2 separate regions of the Homo sapiens genome follow, and region 1 is linked to region 2. Evidence: promoter capture Hi-C in human tissues and cell types (Jung and others, 2019). All regions are on one chromosome and are shown on one strand. Each heading gives the region's core, a stretch centred on a gene start or on the middle of the fragment in contact. The rest is flanking DNA. Distances are from core to core; before and after follow the strand shown.

What was found. The method cuts DNA at HindIII sites, captures the fragments that hold promoters and counts their contacts. A contact is called where the count stands out against the background at its distance.
Region 1: a fragment that was not itself captured here is called in contact with the fragment with the promoter of IDH3B in region 2 in 1 of the 25 tissues and cell types used here (dorsolateral prefrontal cortex).

What each region holds. Positions count from the first base shown.
Region 1 is chr20:2,482,839-2,486,264 of GRCh38, reverse strand. ZNF343 (zinc finger protein 343) reads left to right here. Exons shown (of 6, transcript NM_024325.6): 6 at 1,609-3,426. The coding sequence ends at 3,104. Among named protein-coding and RNA genes, the nearest start is that of SNRPB, 14 kb to the right of the region's middle. The HindIII fragment of the contact is 4,668 bases long and covers 1-3,426 here.
Region 2 is chr20:2,662,292-2,666,197 of GRCh38, reverse strand. IDH3B (isocitrate dehydrogenase (NAD(+)) 3 non-catalytic subunit beta) reads left to right here and starts at 1,982. Exons shown (of 12, transcript NM_006899.5): 1 at 1,982-2,045; 2 at 2,193-2,273; 3 at 2,440-2,538; 4 at 2,632-2,752. The coding sequence starts at 2,010. It overlaps IDH3B-DT (IDH3B divergent transcript), which reads right to left and starts at 1,924. Exons shown (of 3, transcript NR_186432.1): 1 at 1,592-1,924; 2 at 694-940. RefSeq lists enhancers at 559-1,344, 2,918-3,705. The HindIII fragment of the contact is 10,496 bases long and covers 1-3,817 here.

The DNA of each region.
Region 1 (3,426 bases), core at 865-3,364, 180 kb after region 2:
TGGGGTCCCTTTAACAGGGTGTTAAGTGTAAGGAGCTTTTGGTTCCAGTGTTTGACACAAAATAGACACAAATGAGATTTCTTCTCCTACTGAAATGCTTCTCAGTGATGTAGGGTGTTACATCACTGCCGTATATATATTCAGACTGCAGTCTGAATGACTTGGTATGCTTCTAGATAATCCAAAAAGATGGCAGCGAATCACAGTCAAAATATCAAGGCAAAAAGTTCACGTCACAAAGTACCAGAATGACCACAAGTCTTATAAGAGATGACGGGTCAGAAATAGAAACAAATAATGAGTTACTTTGAGAACCCAAGTAAACCAAACAGACTCAGGGAGTGCTCAGTGACAGCAAGCAGAGCCTGACAGCTGCTGAGAGCCTCACCCATGGCAAGGCTGCCAGACAAGCAGCTTTGAGCACATACGGCTCAGTCTACACACAGCTGTGTTCCTCTGGCAGTCCAGCAGTTCCAGCACTGGTCGGTGCCTTGTCAGAGCAACCAAAGGGAAAACACATTGTCAAAAACTAAAACAAAGACCACAAAAGGTCAAAAAATCAAATGGCACAAATCATTTACTTAACAGGAAAGGAGACACAGCAGTGAAGAAATTCACTGTATAGTTTGGCAAGGGGGAAAAATAAAAGGTTTTACTGTTAGGGAGCAGTTTCATGATGGTTATGCTAATTAAGGTTTGAAAACTAGCATTCCAGATAGGATAGGATGAGTTTTTAAGGACAGATACAGTTGATTATAAAGATTCCAGTGTTCATTAGTTAGGCAGAAGTCTTCAGTTAGGCCCAGTAGGGTCTGGGGCCAAGTACGTGGTCATTTCTCAGCATCAGTTGGATAGATCATGTTGTGATGAAATGCAACATCTAGTTTTGATATTTTGTAGGCAGGTGCTGCTGTAAATGAAAAGTTTTTCTTTTTACTGATTTATGAAAAGTGGAAAGAAAGGCAGATTTTGTTGTTTTGGCTTGGTGCCAGAATCCTAAAATCATGGACCATGTCTTTCTTGTTCATTACTGAATTCATAATACTTAGTAGAGAACCTAGTACTTTGGCATTTTCTAATAAGTCTTTGTTTACAGGTGGGCAGCCTGAAATTTATATTTGTTTTATATACAATAATTTCTTTAACCAGTATTCCATACACTTTCTCCTACATTCGGAAGCCCTCCAGAATGAGGGACTTTTTATGTCTATCAGACCCTTTTTTATATAATAAGAAAAGTCATGAAGGAGATTTCCACATGTGTCATAGAGACCACTATCTCCAAGCAGAACAAAGAGCTGTGGACAGTATATACCAATGTGAATGTCTATGGCTTAGGAGAAGGCTAACTATGATTGAAGCTGTTTACAGAGCAGAATACTCACTTGAGAGGTTCCTGGTTTCTCAAGATATTTTTGTTATGGATTTTCTGGATTGCAATAGAAAATGTGATGGAATGTAAAGGAATCATTGTTCAGAAGCAAATTGTGTTATACTTATATTATCAATTATAGGCATGGCAGTAAAACATTCTCTGTCCTAAGACAAGGCAGAACAACTCAGCAGCCCTACTTATGGCTACTCTAACAGAAAACTTTCATTCTTCAGCAGAACCAAAGCCAGAAATCTACACTTGTTCCTCCTGCCTTCTGGCCTTCTCCTGTCAGCAGTTCCTCAGTCAACATGTACTTCAGATCTTCCTGGGCTTATGTGCAGAAAATCACTTCCATCCAGGGAATTCTAGCCCAGGGCATTGGAAACAGCAGGGGCAGCAGTATTCCCATGTAAGCTGTTGGTTTGAAAATGCAGAAGGTCAGGAGAGAGGAGGTGGCTCCAAACCCTGGTCTGCAAGGACAGAGGAGAGAGAAACCTCAAGGGCATTCCCCAGCCCACTCCAAAGACAGTCAGCAAGTCCTAGAAAAGGCAACATGGTGGTAGAAACAGAGCCCAGCTCAGCCCAAAGACCAAACCCTGTGCAGCTAGACAAAGGCTTGAAGGAATTAGAAACCTTGAGATTTGGAGCAATCAACTGTAGAGAGTATGAACCGGACCATAACCTGGAATCAAACTTTATTACAAACCCGAGGACCCTCTTAGGGAAGAAGCCCTACATTTGCAGTGATTGTGGGCGAAGCTTTAAAGATAGATCAACCCTCATCAGACACCATCGTATACACTCGATGGAGAAGCCTTATGTGTGCAGTGAGTGCGGGCGAGGTTTTAGCCAGAAGTCCAACCTCAGCAGACACCAGAGAACACATTCAGAAGAGAAGCCTTATTTGTGCAGGGAGTGTGGGCAAAGCTTTAGAAGTAAGTCCATCCTCAATAGACATCAGTGGACTCACTCAGAGGAGAAGCCCTATGTTTGCAGCGAGTGTGGGCGAGGCTTTAGCGAGAAGTCATCCTTCATCAGACACCAGAGGACACACTCCGGTGAGAAACCCTATGTGTGCCTGGAGTGTGGACGAAGCTTTTGTGATAAGTCAACCCTCAGAAAACACCAGAGGATACACTCAGGGGAGAAGCCTTATGTTTGCAGGGAGTGTGGGCGAGGCTTTAGCCAGAACTCAGATCTCATCAAACACCAGAGGACACACTTGGATGAGAAGCCTTATGTTTGCAGGGAGTGTGGGCGAGGCTTTTGTGACAAGTCAACCCTCATCATACACGAGCGGACGCACTCTGGAGAGAAGCCTTATGTGTGTGGTGAGTGTGGCCGAGGCTTTAGTCGGAAATCACTCCTCCTTGTCCACCAGAGGACACACTCAGGGGAGAAGCATTATGTCTGCAGGGAGTGTAGGCGAGGTTTTAGCCAGAAGTCAAATCTCATCAGACACCAGAGGACGCACTCAAATGAGAAGCCTTATATTTGCAGGGAATGTGGGCGAGGCTTTTGTGACAAGTCAACCCTCATTGTACATGAGAGGACACACTCAGGAGAGAAGCCTTACGTGTGCAGTGAGTGTGGCCGAGGCTTTAGCCGGAAATCACTCCTCCTTGTCCACCAGAGGACACACTCAGGGGAGAAGCATTATGTTTGTAGGGAGTGTGGGCGAGGCTTTAGTCATAAGTCAAATCTCATCAGACACCAGAGGACACACTGACGGGAGAAACCTGTGTATGCAGGGGTCATGAACAAGACCTGAGTGACCAGTCAAGCCTCATGTTACCCCAGAGAGACACATGGGGAGTAGACCCTGTGTACACAGATTGTGAGTGAAGTTCCAGAGATGTGTCAGCCCTTATCAGGCATGGGAGGGACACGTTCAGGAGAGGAGCCTTATGAGTATAGAGTACGGGCAACTGTAGCCATCAGTCAGCCTTGAGCATGCACAAAAGGACACACTTAGGAGAGAAGTTTATGTGTAGGGACTGTGGGAAGGCTTTAGCAATAATCAACATTTACCAGACATCCAATGACAGCCT
Region 2 (3,906 bases), core at 733-3,232:
AGGAGCTCAAGACCAGCCTGGCCAACATGGTGAAACCCTGTCTCTAATAAAAATACAAAAATTAGCCGGGTGTGGTGGCGCGTGCCTGTAATCCCAGCTACCAGGGAGGCGGAGGCAGGAAAATCGCTTGAACCCGGGAGGCAGAGGTTATAAATCTTCCATTTTTTTCTTAGTCAGAAGGAGAAATATTTGGAGAAGAAAAATAGTGACGAATATTAATAGTGATGTGGAAGCTGGGACGAGGGAGTCTATGGGAGCAAGACGGTGGTGCTCTCTGGTTTTGGTTGGTTTCATGGGATATATGAATGGAAATAGAGGAGTGTGTTATACTAATATTATATTAGCTATAATAACAGCTCTATATTTACCCAGTACTTTTCATTTGTTCAAAACTCTTACACATTACCTAGTTTAATCTTCTCATCCTACTACTATATAGGAGAATGTCGCACCTAAAGGATTGCAGAGGAGGCACAAAGCCTATGCATATTCCCCAAGAATAGAAGCACTGGGAATGCCTTTGCGTTGCCACCTTTTTGGCTGGTTGAGGTATATACGAAGGAGGAACTTATCACAGAGAACCTAGCTAGTGGTTCTTAAATTTCAGTGTGTATTAACGGGGAGCCTGTTAGAGATATATTTTCTGGGCCCCCATCACTGAGATTTGGATTCAGCAAATGAAGTATGACTCACAAGCCTGCACTTTTAACAAGAGCTCTGGTCCATCTGGATAGGTGATCCAAAACCATACTTCCAGAAGAGCGGGTGAGGCAAATCTTCCTGTACCAGTTTGTCTTTAGGTGTGTCAATTGTACACACCTAAAATCGTGACTGGAGGCCGGGCTTGGTGGCTCACGCCTGTAATCCCAGCACTTTGGGAGGCCGAGGCGGGCGGATCACGACGTCAGGAGATCGAGACCACGGTGAAACCCCGTCTCCACTAAAAATACAAAAAAAAAAAAAAAAAAAAAAAAAAATTAGCCAGGTGTGATGGCGGGCGCTACTCGGGAGGCTGAGGCAGGAGAATGGGGTGAACCCAGGAGGCGGAGCTTGCAGTGAGCCGAGATCGCACCACCGCACTCCAGCCTGGGCGACAGAGCGAGACTCTGTCTCAAAAAAAAAAAAAAAAAAATCGTGACTGTAATTGTTTTGAGACGGGTCTCGCCCCGTCTCCCAGGCTGGAGTGCAGTGGTGCCATCACGGCTCACTACGGCTTCCACCTCCCGGGCTTAAGTGATCCTCCCACCTCAGCCTCCTAAGTAGCTGGGACTACAGGTGTGTCACCACGCCTGGCTAATTTTTAAATTTTTTGTAGAGTCGAGGTCTCCCTATGTTGTCCAGGCTTTTTTTAGTTTTTATGATTGTTACTTTAAGGATCAGTCTGAAATTCCCTTTAGTCACACTTACACGCTTGAACTCATTTCTGACACTAGTTATGGGCCTGTCCTGGGGAGTTCAAGTCCGGGACACACTATTAGGGAAATAACTGTCAGAGCAAAGAACAAAACCCTGTAAGAAAAAACTACGAGGCGACGGGTAATACAGAGGTCCTGGGCACTCTCGGAGACTGGCGGAGAAACCCGACACACACCTCCCATGTCTGTACTGTATTCCTCGAGAGCCTGACATACAGGTATTCAGTGAGTACTGGTTAAAAGAATAACAAACGCATTGACACACAAATTTTAACAGCTTCCCAAGGATTTTCTCTCAATCGCTTGTTAAGCTCAGGTCCTCGTCTGATAAACATGACGCTACATTTTTCCCCCTAATGTTATTTTGAAGTTTCGACGTAGATTAAATATGGCGACTGAAAACAAAGCAAGAGACAAAGTGCTTGCGCATCCCATGACCTCCCCACCGGCAAGGAAAAGGAGAAACAGGCGTGAGCAAGCAGTGCTGGTTGGCGCAGAGAGAGAAATACCAGGAACTCAGTACAGGCCGGAAGTCGGGGTACGGGGCCGCGCCAGCTTCAGGCGTCACTTCCCACGCGACTTCCTGCGGGAAACATGGCGGCATTGAGCGGAGTCCGCTGGCTGACCCGAGTGAGGCCCCGGGACATGTCGGGCAGGGGCGGGCGAAGGAGCGGAGAGTTTGTCCTAGGGTTTCCTAAACAGGGCAAAGTCAACTGTAGTGTTCGGGGTCTGGATGTCTCAAAGCTGACCTTACAGGCTTGTGTGTCCCTGTTGCAGGCGCTGGTCTCCGCCGGGAACCCTGGGGCATGGAGAGGTCTGAGTACCTCGGCCGCGGCGCACGCTGCATCGCGGAGCCAGGTATGCACGAATCTGGCTGGGGTCTCTCTTACGACCCTGTCCCTTCCTCGCTGCTCCCTCCCCTGGCTTTTCCCCACCCCTCCCGGGTCTCCCTACTTCTCTACTCCCAGGATCCGTGCTCCCGCCCCAGCTCTATCTTTACTTCTCCCCTCTTCCCCCAATTGAGGCCGAGGACGTGAGGGTGGAGGGCTCCTTTCCCGTGACCATGCTTCCGGGAGACGGTGTGGGGCCTGAGCTGATGCACGCCGTCAAGGAGGTGTTCAAGGTGAGTGGCCTCGGGGATCAGACAGTAGAGGACAGTAGTGTGTTGGAAAGGACTTGGCCTTGACTGTGATGTTTTGGGAACCTGTCTCTGAAGGCTGCCGCTGTCCCAGTGGAGTTCCAGGAGCACCACCTGAGTGAGGTGCAGAATATGGCATCTGAGGAGAAGCTGGAGCAGGTGCTGAGTTCCATGAAGGAGAACAAAGTGGCCATCATTGGTATGTGTGCCCTCTTGCCACTTGTCCATGTGCCATTTAAAATCAAATGACCAAATGTTTATTAAGCCCTTCTCCCCACATGCTATGCAATTATATTAACTCCAGGGCAACCACCATTGGTATTTGGACATTTGTTCCTTCCCATTGGGAGCCCAGGAGTTGAGAGATCATGTCAGCTGTCTATGCAGAAAAGTTCCAGGGGTTCTGAGTCTGTCCTGAGGCTACATCAACTGTCATCAAATCTTATTCATTGCATTTCTGGAATACCACTTTTAGCTGCCCCTTTTCTTTTTTTTTTTTTCCCCTCCCTTCCTTCCTCTTTGTTTCTTCTTGCTCTGTCGCCCAGGCTGGAGTGCAGTGGCGCGATCTCGGCTCACTGCAACCTCCCCGTCCCTGGTTCAAGCAATTCTCCTGCCTCAGCCTCCTGAGTAGCTGCGACTACAGGTGTGCACCACCACACCCAGCTAATTTTTGTGTTTGTTTTGTTTTAAGACAGAGTCTCGCTCTGTCGCCCAGGCTGGAGTGCAATGTTGCCATCTCAGCTCACTGCAACCTCTGCCTCCCGGGTTCAAGTGATTCTCCTGCCTCAGCCTCCTGAGTAGCTGGCTGGTATTACAGGAGCGTGCCACCATGCCTGGCTAATTTTTGTATTTTTAGTAGAGATGGGGTTTCACCATGTTGGTCAGGCTGGTCTCGAACTCCTGACCTTGTGATCTGCCCGCCTTGGCCTCCCACAGTGCTGGGATTACAAGTGTGAGCCACCATGCCCAGGCTAATTTTTGTATTTTTAGTAGAGAGAGGGTTTTACCATGTTGGCCAGGCTGGTCTCGAACTCTTGACCTCAAGTGATCCACCCACCTCTGCATCCCAAACTGCTGCGATTATAGGCGTGAGCCACCGTGCCTAGCTGCCCCTTTTCTTTTGTCTTCCGCGCTTTAATCTCCTCATTTGATTTTTTTGGCTTCTAGTTCTGCCCCTATAGTTCATCTTCCATATCTCTTCTTGGAAAGAACAGCCTGATTTTCCAGGCCCAGCCTTACCATAGGAAAGTCAGTACTTTATAAGTTGGCCCTTAATTTTCTGCCTTGGTTCCACAACTCTTGTTCTGTGCTTCAATCACACTAGATTGTGTGTTAGATTCCAAATATGTACTA